2 separate regions of the Homo sapiens genome follow, and region 2 is linked to region 1. Evidence: promoter capture Hi-C in 16 types of primary human blood cells and fetal thymus (Javierre and others, 2016). All regions are on one chromosome and are shown on one strand. The core of a region is centred on a gene start or on the middle of the fragment in contact, and the rest is flanking DNA. Distances in the headings are between cores, read along the strand shown. Region 1 holds the start of SVIP (small VCP interacting protein). Region 2 holds the start of RPS13 (ribosomal protein S13).

Evidence for each region. Contacts are between HindIII fragments. The CHiCAGO score rates a contact against its expected background, and 5 or more counts as called.
Region 2: a contact is called between the fragment with the promoter of RPS13 here and the fragment with the promoter of SVIP in region 1, in 1 of 17 cell types (non-activated CD4 T cells). The highest score is 6.0, in non-activated CD4 T cells.

The regions. Positions count from the first base shown.
Region 1 is chr11:22,828,054-22,832,131 of GRCh38, forward strand. It overlaps SVIP (small VCP interacting protein), which reads right to left and starts at 1,748. Exons shown (of 4, transcript NM_148893.3): 1 at 1,642-1,748. The coding sequence starts at 1,695. It overlaps LINC02718 (long intergenic non-protein coding RNA 2718), which reads left to right and starts at 1,361. Exons shown (of 11, transcript NR_187210.1): 1 at 1,361-1,558. RefSeq lists an enhancer at 1,343-1,652 and a silencer at 1,803-1,872. The HindIII fragment of the contact is 1,537 bases long and covers 529-2,065 here.
Region 2 is chr11:17,075,873-17,079,950 of GRCh38, forward strand. It overlaps RPS13 (ribosomal protein S13), which reads right to left and starts at 1,795. Exons shown (of 6, transcript NM_001017.3): 1 at 1,747-1,795; 2 at 1,557-1,605; 3 at 1,296-1,374. The coding sequence starts at 1,769. RefSeq lists an enhancer at 1,829-2,028. The HindIII fragment of the contact is 8,959 bases long and covers 1-2,596 here.

The sequences.
Region 1 (4,078 bases), core at 498-2,997:
CAAATCAGCACATGCTAAAACAGATACAAGGTTTACCTATATAATCATTTATTTACTCTCTTTTTTAATAAAAAGGCCTACAAGCTAGTCAGGGCAATAACAAAACAAATAATGTTTACAAATACAAAAAGGAAAATACATGGTTTGTTACTGCCGGTTAAAATGGAGTCTGAAGTAACCTGGTGTTTTTAGGAAAGGTTAATAAATGAAGTGGGCTAATCTCAGTGTGTAGGAGGGAAGGACTGGAGTAATTTCATGAGAGGTATTGTTCCATATCAGAAAACAGTGAATGCTATTTTTCTAGACCATGTACTACTTATTATAAAGCCCTTTTTCTAGGTGCTGGGATACAACAGTGTAAAAACATAGATAAATGTCTCCTCCCAAATGAAACAAATTCCAATTGCGGGCGCACAGACAAATATAATGAAGTAAGTAAACGTCTGTCAGATGGCATGGCAGATAAGTAATGGGAGAATGGGTGGGTGGTATTGTGGGGAATATATTTTGTTTAACGTGGTCAGCAAAAGCTTCACTGGTAAAGTGACATCCAAGCAGTGAGCCGTGTGGTTATCAAGGGAAGAGGGTATAGTATGAGGATGGGGGGGAGGGCTTAACAAATCTGACATGTTATATTTTATCGACAGCCAGAACAACAAAATCAACTTAATTTAAAACAACAGCAGCAACAAAGAGAAGCTGAACTTTCCCACATCAAATTTATAAGTACTAAATTTTTAGTATCTATAGTAGCTGAAGAGTTAATGTACTTCCCAAAAATACTTCATTTTCTTCAACTAATTTTTAGCTAGAGAAGAGAAACAGGTTTATGTTAACTCCCTGTAAGGAGTACTAATGTAAAGATACTGTTAACAGAAAGCTACAAAAAGTGTACATGTATTGTACCACACACCCACTAGCTACATTTGAATTTCAGATAAGCAATGAGTAATGTTTTTGTAGAACTAGATCCCTAATATTGCATGGCACAAAACGATATTATAAACGTATTCCTTGTATATCTGAAATTCGAATGTAACTGGGTGTCCAGTATTTTTATTAAATACGACATTATAAATTGGACACTCTGTACTACATATTCTTTTAAAGGGAGAACGTAAAAGAATGAGATAAATACTAAAAAGAAATCATTAAAAAAACATATCCGATAAAGCTCAGGCGTATAAGCGACTTTCCGAGCACCTTCTTTTAAAAGATGGTAGACACAGTTGAAAACGCACATCTCCTAGACGACTAAAGAGCTCCCGGAGAAAGCAATGTCTTTTCGCGCCGAATTCCATCTACCACATCCCCCGGAATGTCCCACGCGTAACGCCCTCTGCGTGCGCCGGCGCCCTATGAAGATCCGGCGCAGCTAAAGTCAGTGGAAGGTAGAAAGACGCCACAGCCGCCTTTCGACAACTTTTTGTTACAAAAGTGGAGATCTACACGGAGGCGACGGCCTAGGTCGCTCTGACAGGACCCAACGACCCTCCTGACGCGTCCACCCGTCCTCGCTAGCAGGGTCCCCCAGCGGGCTCTCGACCTGCGCCACCAGGTACAATGGCTCGGCCCGCCCCGCAACCCGAGGACAGGTGCTCAAGGCGCGGCCCGGCGGACGCAGGGACCTGCTCTACTCACCAGGTCCGGCGTGGGAGGCGCGGACTCCCCGGGACAAGGAAAACACAGCCCCATAGGGACGACAGCTTGAGAACCCTGACCGGGTCCGGCCCAGGCCAGGCGGCGCTAACTGCGCGGTCCGGAGCCGGTCCCTGGTCCTCCGCGCTTGCCCCGCCCCCACCGCCCTCCACTGGCTCGGCTCCGCCCCAGCGGCAACGCCCCGCCCCCACCCCGCAGCTCTGCCCCGCCTCGCCTCTCTGCGGCAACGCCCCCCTCTTCTCGCGACACCAACCAGTCCCACAGCTCAGCTGCGCCCCCTTAAGGCATTGCCCCTTCCTCACCCACAGCTCCGCCTACCCCCGCCCCGCGACCGCTGGGCTTGTGGCCAAAGCCTAGGTTCCAGGAAACACCTGCTGTGGGTAGCAATGCAGGGAAGGGATGGAAAAGCTTCGCTACGGTTCCAAAGCTCTTCCTGCTAACCTTGCCTTACCATTTATAAATGAATGAGTGGTACAGCTCTGGGTAGTTCATGCTACCTTTTTTTATGAGATGGGACTCTGGTGTCCTAGAAATTAAAGCCAAAATTCCAAGTAAACATCAGCACCCTTTTCTCCCTTCTTAGTGACAGTGCTATTCCAGAACAGAGGGCAGAATATAAAATCCATTATTATGACGATGAATCTAGCGTCATAAATGTGGCATTAGTTGACATTTCCACTAGTTTCTGGTATTTAGAAGTCATTTATCCTTCCGAGAGAAATAATAAAGTTTCATCTACTGAGAAATGTTTTAATGATTCTCCTCAAATTTTAATAAGTATGAGAATCAGCTGGGCAACTAGTTAAAATTTACTTGCTGATTTAGTAAGTATAAGGTGGGACCTGAGATTCATTTCCAGTAAACCCACAGGTGATACTAAAGTTACTGATCTCGTCTCCACACAAATGCTTTTATTTTATTTTATTTTATTTTTGCATTCTATTAGTTATTTCTGCTTATGTAAAAATTTTCAAACATTACAAAAAGGTAGGATGTATAGTGACAGCGTCTCAGAAACCATTGTCGGCTTTTTGATATACTTGCTGGTTAATTTTTTATAGATGTATAATTTACATATAATATTATGCACTTATTTTGATTGTAGAGTTCACTGAGTTTTAACAAACATGTGATCACCACATTCAAGATATGTAAGTTTTCCATCACCCAAAAACCTTCTATTGTACCCAATCCCATTCAATACTTTATCCTATACCTAGATCCAGGAAACTATTAATTTGTTTAATATCACTTTAGTCTTTAAGTTTTGCATAAATGTTAATATCACTATAGTCTTTAAGTTTTACATAAATGAAATATACAATATGTTTTGCAAAAGCCATAATATTTTCTAAATTCTTCCATGTTATTGAATGAAACAGTAGTTTATTCCTTAAATAATAGGGGATGATGCTTTTTTAATACTATTATTCGATTGCATGGGCCGTTTCTAAGGGTAAATAAAAATATATAAAGAAAAAGTGAAGGTTCTCTGTTGCAAAAAGAGAAAGATAACTACCCACCTCCTCTTTAGCATTGTGTTTAGAAAACGTGAAATTGTAAGCGCTATCTCTGTCTCACTGAAATGTATGAAAAAAAAAAAAAGGCCAGGCATGGTGGCTTACTCCTGTACTTTTGGAGGCCAAGGTGGGTGGATCACCTGAGGTCAGGAGTTTAAGACCAGCCTGACCAACGTGGGGAAACCCTTTCTCTATTAAAAATACAAAACTTCGCCAGGCATGGTGGTGGGCGCCTGTAATCCCAGCTACTCCGGAGGCTGAGCAGGGAGAATCGTTTGAACCCGGGAGGCGGAGGTTGCAGTGAGCCGAGCTCGCGCCACTGCACTCCAGCCTGCACAACAGAGAGAGATTGCGTCGAAAGAAAAGAAAGAGAGGAGGGGAGGGGAGGGGAGGGGAGGGCAGGGGAGGCTAAATAAGCCTCTTGCCAGTTTTGCATCAGAAAGAAAGAACCTAAATAAGCCTCTTGCCAGTTTTGTATCCTCAGAATATCTTTGGAGGCCTATTGGCTTTCTCTTAGAAATGAAAACATCCCAGAGTGGCACCTGTCTCCCCGTCTTCATGGTAGTTTACTGTCTAGGCACTTGGCTTCAAGATGGAGCTTTCTGCTTGTCAAGAGATACAAGTGTTATTCTTTCCTTTAGATTTCTTTTAGATAAAAACAATTAACATGTGTGTAGTGGACTGTATCTGACAGGCTATATAAAAATGGTGAAGAATGTTTTCATTGCAAACTCTTTAGTAGATTGCTTCTGATAGAAATCACAATCGATTTAATGCTTATTCAATGATAAAACTGTTTCTTTTCTGCATTTGTGGAGAGTTTCCTGCATTGGCAGATTTTGTTTTTAATTATTATCAAAACACTTTCCATGACATAATTATTTCCCCAACACTTTCCA
Region 2 (4,078 bases), core at 545-3,044, 5.8 Mb before region 1:
GCTGGAATACAGATGACCAAAGGGATTAATGAGATTCCACAGCTAACATTTACTGAGAACTCTGGTCAGATATTCTTCTAAAAACTTTACACGTTATTTCTTTTAAACCTCTAATGAGCTCTGACTACTTACAATCTATGACATATTTTCTTTTGATGTGTCATACCTCCAATTAGACTACAAGCTCCAGGAGTACAGATATTTTGCACCCCCCTCCCCCTTTTAAGAGGTGGGATCAGGTGGTGTGGCTCACGCCTGTAATCCCAGCACTTTGGGAGGCCGAGGCAGTGGATCATCTGAGGTCAGGAGTCTGAGACCAGCCTGGCCAACATGGTGAAACCTCGTCTCTACTAAAAATACAAAAATTAGCCGGGCGTGGTGGTGCGGCCTGTAGTCTCAGCTACTCCAGAGGCAGAGGCAGGAGAATTGCTTGCTTGAACCCAGGAGGCGGAGGTTGCAGTGAGCCGAGATCATACCACTGCACTCCAGCCTGGGTGACAAAGTGAGAATCGGTCTCAAACAAAAACACACAAATTAGCTGGGCCTGCTGGCGGGCGCCTGTAATCCCACCTATTCGGGAGGCTGAGGCAGGAGAATCGCTTGAATCCAGGAGGTGGAGGTTGCAGTGAGCTGAGATCGCGCCACTGCACTCCAGACTGGGCGACAAGAGCAAGACTGTCTCAAAAAAAAAAAAAAAAAGAGGTGGGGTCTCTCTGTCACCCAGGAGTGCAGTGGCTTCATCATAGCTCACTGCAGCCTGGGACTTCTAGGCTCTGGTGATCCTCTCACCTCTGCATCCCAAGTATCTGGGACTACAGGCACATTGCGGCTGGCTTTTTTGGGCGGGGGAGTCGGAGAGTAGTATGTTCTCAGGCCCCAGAACCATGTTCAGCACATAGAAGGTAAACATTTGCTGAATGAAGCCACTTGCACGAAGTCACACGCAGCTGAGATTCAAACCACACCTAACTGTGAGGAACTGTGTCAGGCACTCTGCTTAGCCAATTCCAACTCCTCCACTTGACAGCTGTGTGATTTGGGGCTGGTTAGTATCCAGCGGCAGTGTGCCTCTGCTTCCTCAACTGTAAACTGGGGTGAAAGCCATGAAGATTTATTTCAAAGTATTGTGGTCAGAATTAAACGAAATCAGTACATGTGAAGTGCTTACAATGATGCCTCTAGCACGGTGGCGAGACCAGAGTTTTGGCTATTTTTAAAATAACTTTACCACCTACTAGATCCTACAAGTCACACGAGGACAGGCGAAATAGGCTATGTTAGACACAAACACTCACCGATCTGTGAAGGAGTAAGGCCCTTCTTGGCCAGTTTGTAAATCTGCTCCTTCACGTCGTCAGATGTCAACTTCAACCACTGTTATGGAATAGAAAGCAGCCTTAGGATGAGAACCCAGGAATGGCGCCGCAGAACAGCGGTCTCTCCTTCCGCAAAACCGCGCTCCTCATACACGCAAGTTCCTCACCCTGGCGTCGCTTCACCCGAGACAAATGCCAACCCCCTCCCCGGATTCTCCCCGGTCCCAGCGCGCTACTTACAGTGGGGACGCTGCGTCGATAGGGTAAAGCCGACTGGGACAGGCCCTTCCTGGGGAGAGAAGCAGTCTCGAGGTGAGGTGGCGGCTAGTGCCAGAGCAGCCCAGAACATCATCCCCTCGGCCCGCTGCCCACACTCCCTGTCTTCCTCCCACCCCCCGCCCAGCAATCCGGCTTGATGCCCCGAGCTCACCCGGGAGCATGCATGCGACCCATGATGGCGGCGATCAGGCAACGAAAGGAGAGCGAGAGTGGAAACGCCGCAGGAAGCCACCCAACACGCAGGAAGTGACCTCACACGTCCCCGCTTCCTCTCACGCAGGAGGCGGAGCTACGCTGCGCAGCCACCGCCCGTCTGTGTGACTACATCTCCCGAAATGCATTTCAGCGTCGCAAGAGATCGTCAATCCAGCCTCATCCCGGCATGCATCGGTCTTTGGTCAGCCTTGTTGCCAGAGCGGGAATTTGAGGCTGACGCCAGCTTGCGTCGAAATTCCCTGTGGACGCCGAGATCACAAAGATTCGAATGCTGCGCTGGGGGTGGGTATGGAGCAGGTAGGGCTGGAAGAAGCAGCCATACACAGGTGTTTGCTCATTCACCAGTGCCTGGCTTTGTCCTGGCACTAGATCCCTCAGAGTCGGCCCTGCGCCTAATAAATTAACAGATACAATAGCATGTGATGAGGACCACACGGGAAGCCATGGCAGCGGCTACCGCCCAGCCAGCGCTTCCATTTCTCATTTCTAAATCCTACCCTAATCTGTCAGGGGAGAGTCGCTGACGGTGAAGAACCGGTCTAAGGAGTTGAACCAGGTCCCCACGGATGCCTGCCGCCCTCCGCACTCGAATTCCCCTGCGCAGGGCTCTGGGGCGCTGGGCTCGCCGGGGAGAAGGGTTGGGCAGAGGCTTACGGAGCTATGTTCCCAAGTGAGAGAGTTGGCGGGCAGGGAAGAGCCTTGGGAGCAAGACTGCAAAGGCCAAGAGGATGAGGGATAAAATGAAGCATTTGAATTTCATGGGAAAAGGGAACCGTCAAGGAAGAAGCTTTTTTTTTTTTTTGAGACGGAGTTTCGCTCTTGATTCGCAGGCTGGAGTGCAATGGCGCGATCTCGGCTTGCCGCACCCTCCGCCTCCCGGCTTCAAGCGATTCTCCTGCCTCAGCCTCCTGAATAGCTGGGATCACAGGCATGCGCCACCACTTCCAGCTAATTTTGTATTTTTAGTAGAGACGGGTTTTTCCATGTTGGTCAGGCTGGTCTTAAATTCCCGACCTCAGGTGATCCGCCCGCCTCGGCCTCCCAAAGTGCTGGGATTACAGGCGTGAGCCACCGCGCCTGGCCGGAAGAAGCTCTTTTAAGACAGACCTAGCCTGGGCAACATGGCGAAACCCCCTCTCTATAAATACAAAGAATTAGCCGGGCGTGCTCGCTCGTGCCTTTGGTTCCAGCTACGAAGGAGGCTGAGGTGGAGAATCTCTGGAGCCGGGAAGGACATTGCGGTGAGCCGAGATAGCACCACTGCGCGCCAGCCTGGGCAACAGAGCAAGACTCTGTCTTAAAAAAAAAAAAAAAAAAGGAAAGAAAGAAAAAGACTGACTCAGTGCCGGTACACAACAATGCGTTGAAAGAATGGGCAAATGAAGCAGCTTCTTAAAATTTTAAAAAGTAAGCATAGCTCTAGGAAGGAGGGAGGTCAGTGAAATCAAACTCCTGTCGACAAGCTTAAAGTAACTGGCAAGACGCTGGGAAACTAGATACTGAAACATCCGCTCTTAACTTTTAACCTGTCACTATTTGAAATAAAGTTATCAGGGATAGCCGGGCGCGGTGGCTCACGCCTGTAATCCCAGCACTTTGGGAGGCTGAGGCGGGCGGATCACGAGATCAAGAGATCGAGACCATCCTGGCTAACACGGTGAAACCCCGTCTCTACTAAAAATACAAAAAAATTAGACGGGCGTGGTGGCGGGCGCCTGTAGTCCCAGCTACTCAGGAGGCTGAGGCAGGAGAATGGCGTGAACCCGGGAGGCGGAGCTTGCAGTAAGCCACGATCGCACCACTGCACTCCAGCCTAGGTGGCAGAGCGAGACTCCGTCTCAAAAAAAAAGTATCAGGGATAAAGAGAGAACCCTTTATAACAACAAACGGGTCAGTTCTCCAAGAAAACAACACCCCTCCCCCCCAAAAAAGCCATAATCTGTCACTATTTGATTAATAACTTTTCCCAAAGCATTAGGAATTTTAGTCAAATCGGGTACCCTATTTGGGTAATGTTTTTTTCTAGCAAAGTTTATCATTAGCCAATTTTACATTTTTAGTTCAGATATGGAATAGGTATCTCAAATTTAATATGACTCCAATTCCCAAACCATGCCCCTTTGTTTCAGTTAAACACGATCCTGTTTGCTCAAACTTAATACAAACCTAGGCATCTCCGTTTTTCTCTGATTTCCCTCTGTCATCCCAGCTCTACCACAAGAATGTATCATGAATATGTTCCCTTTGCCCCATTTCCACCTTCAGTC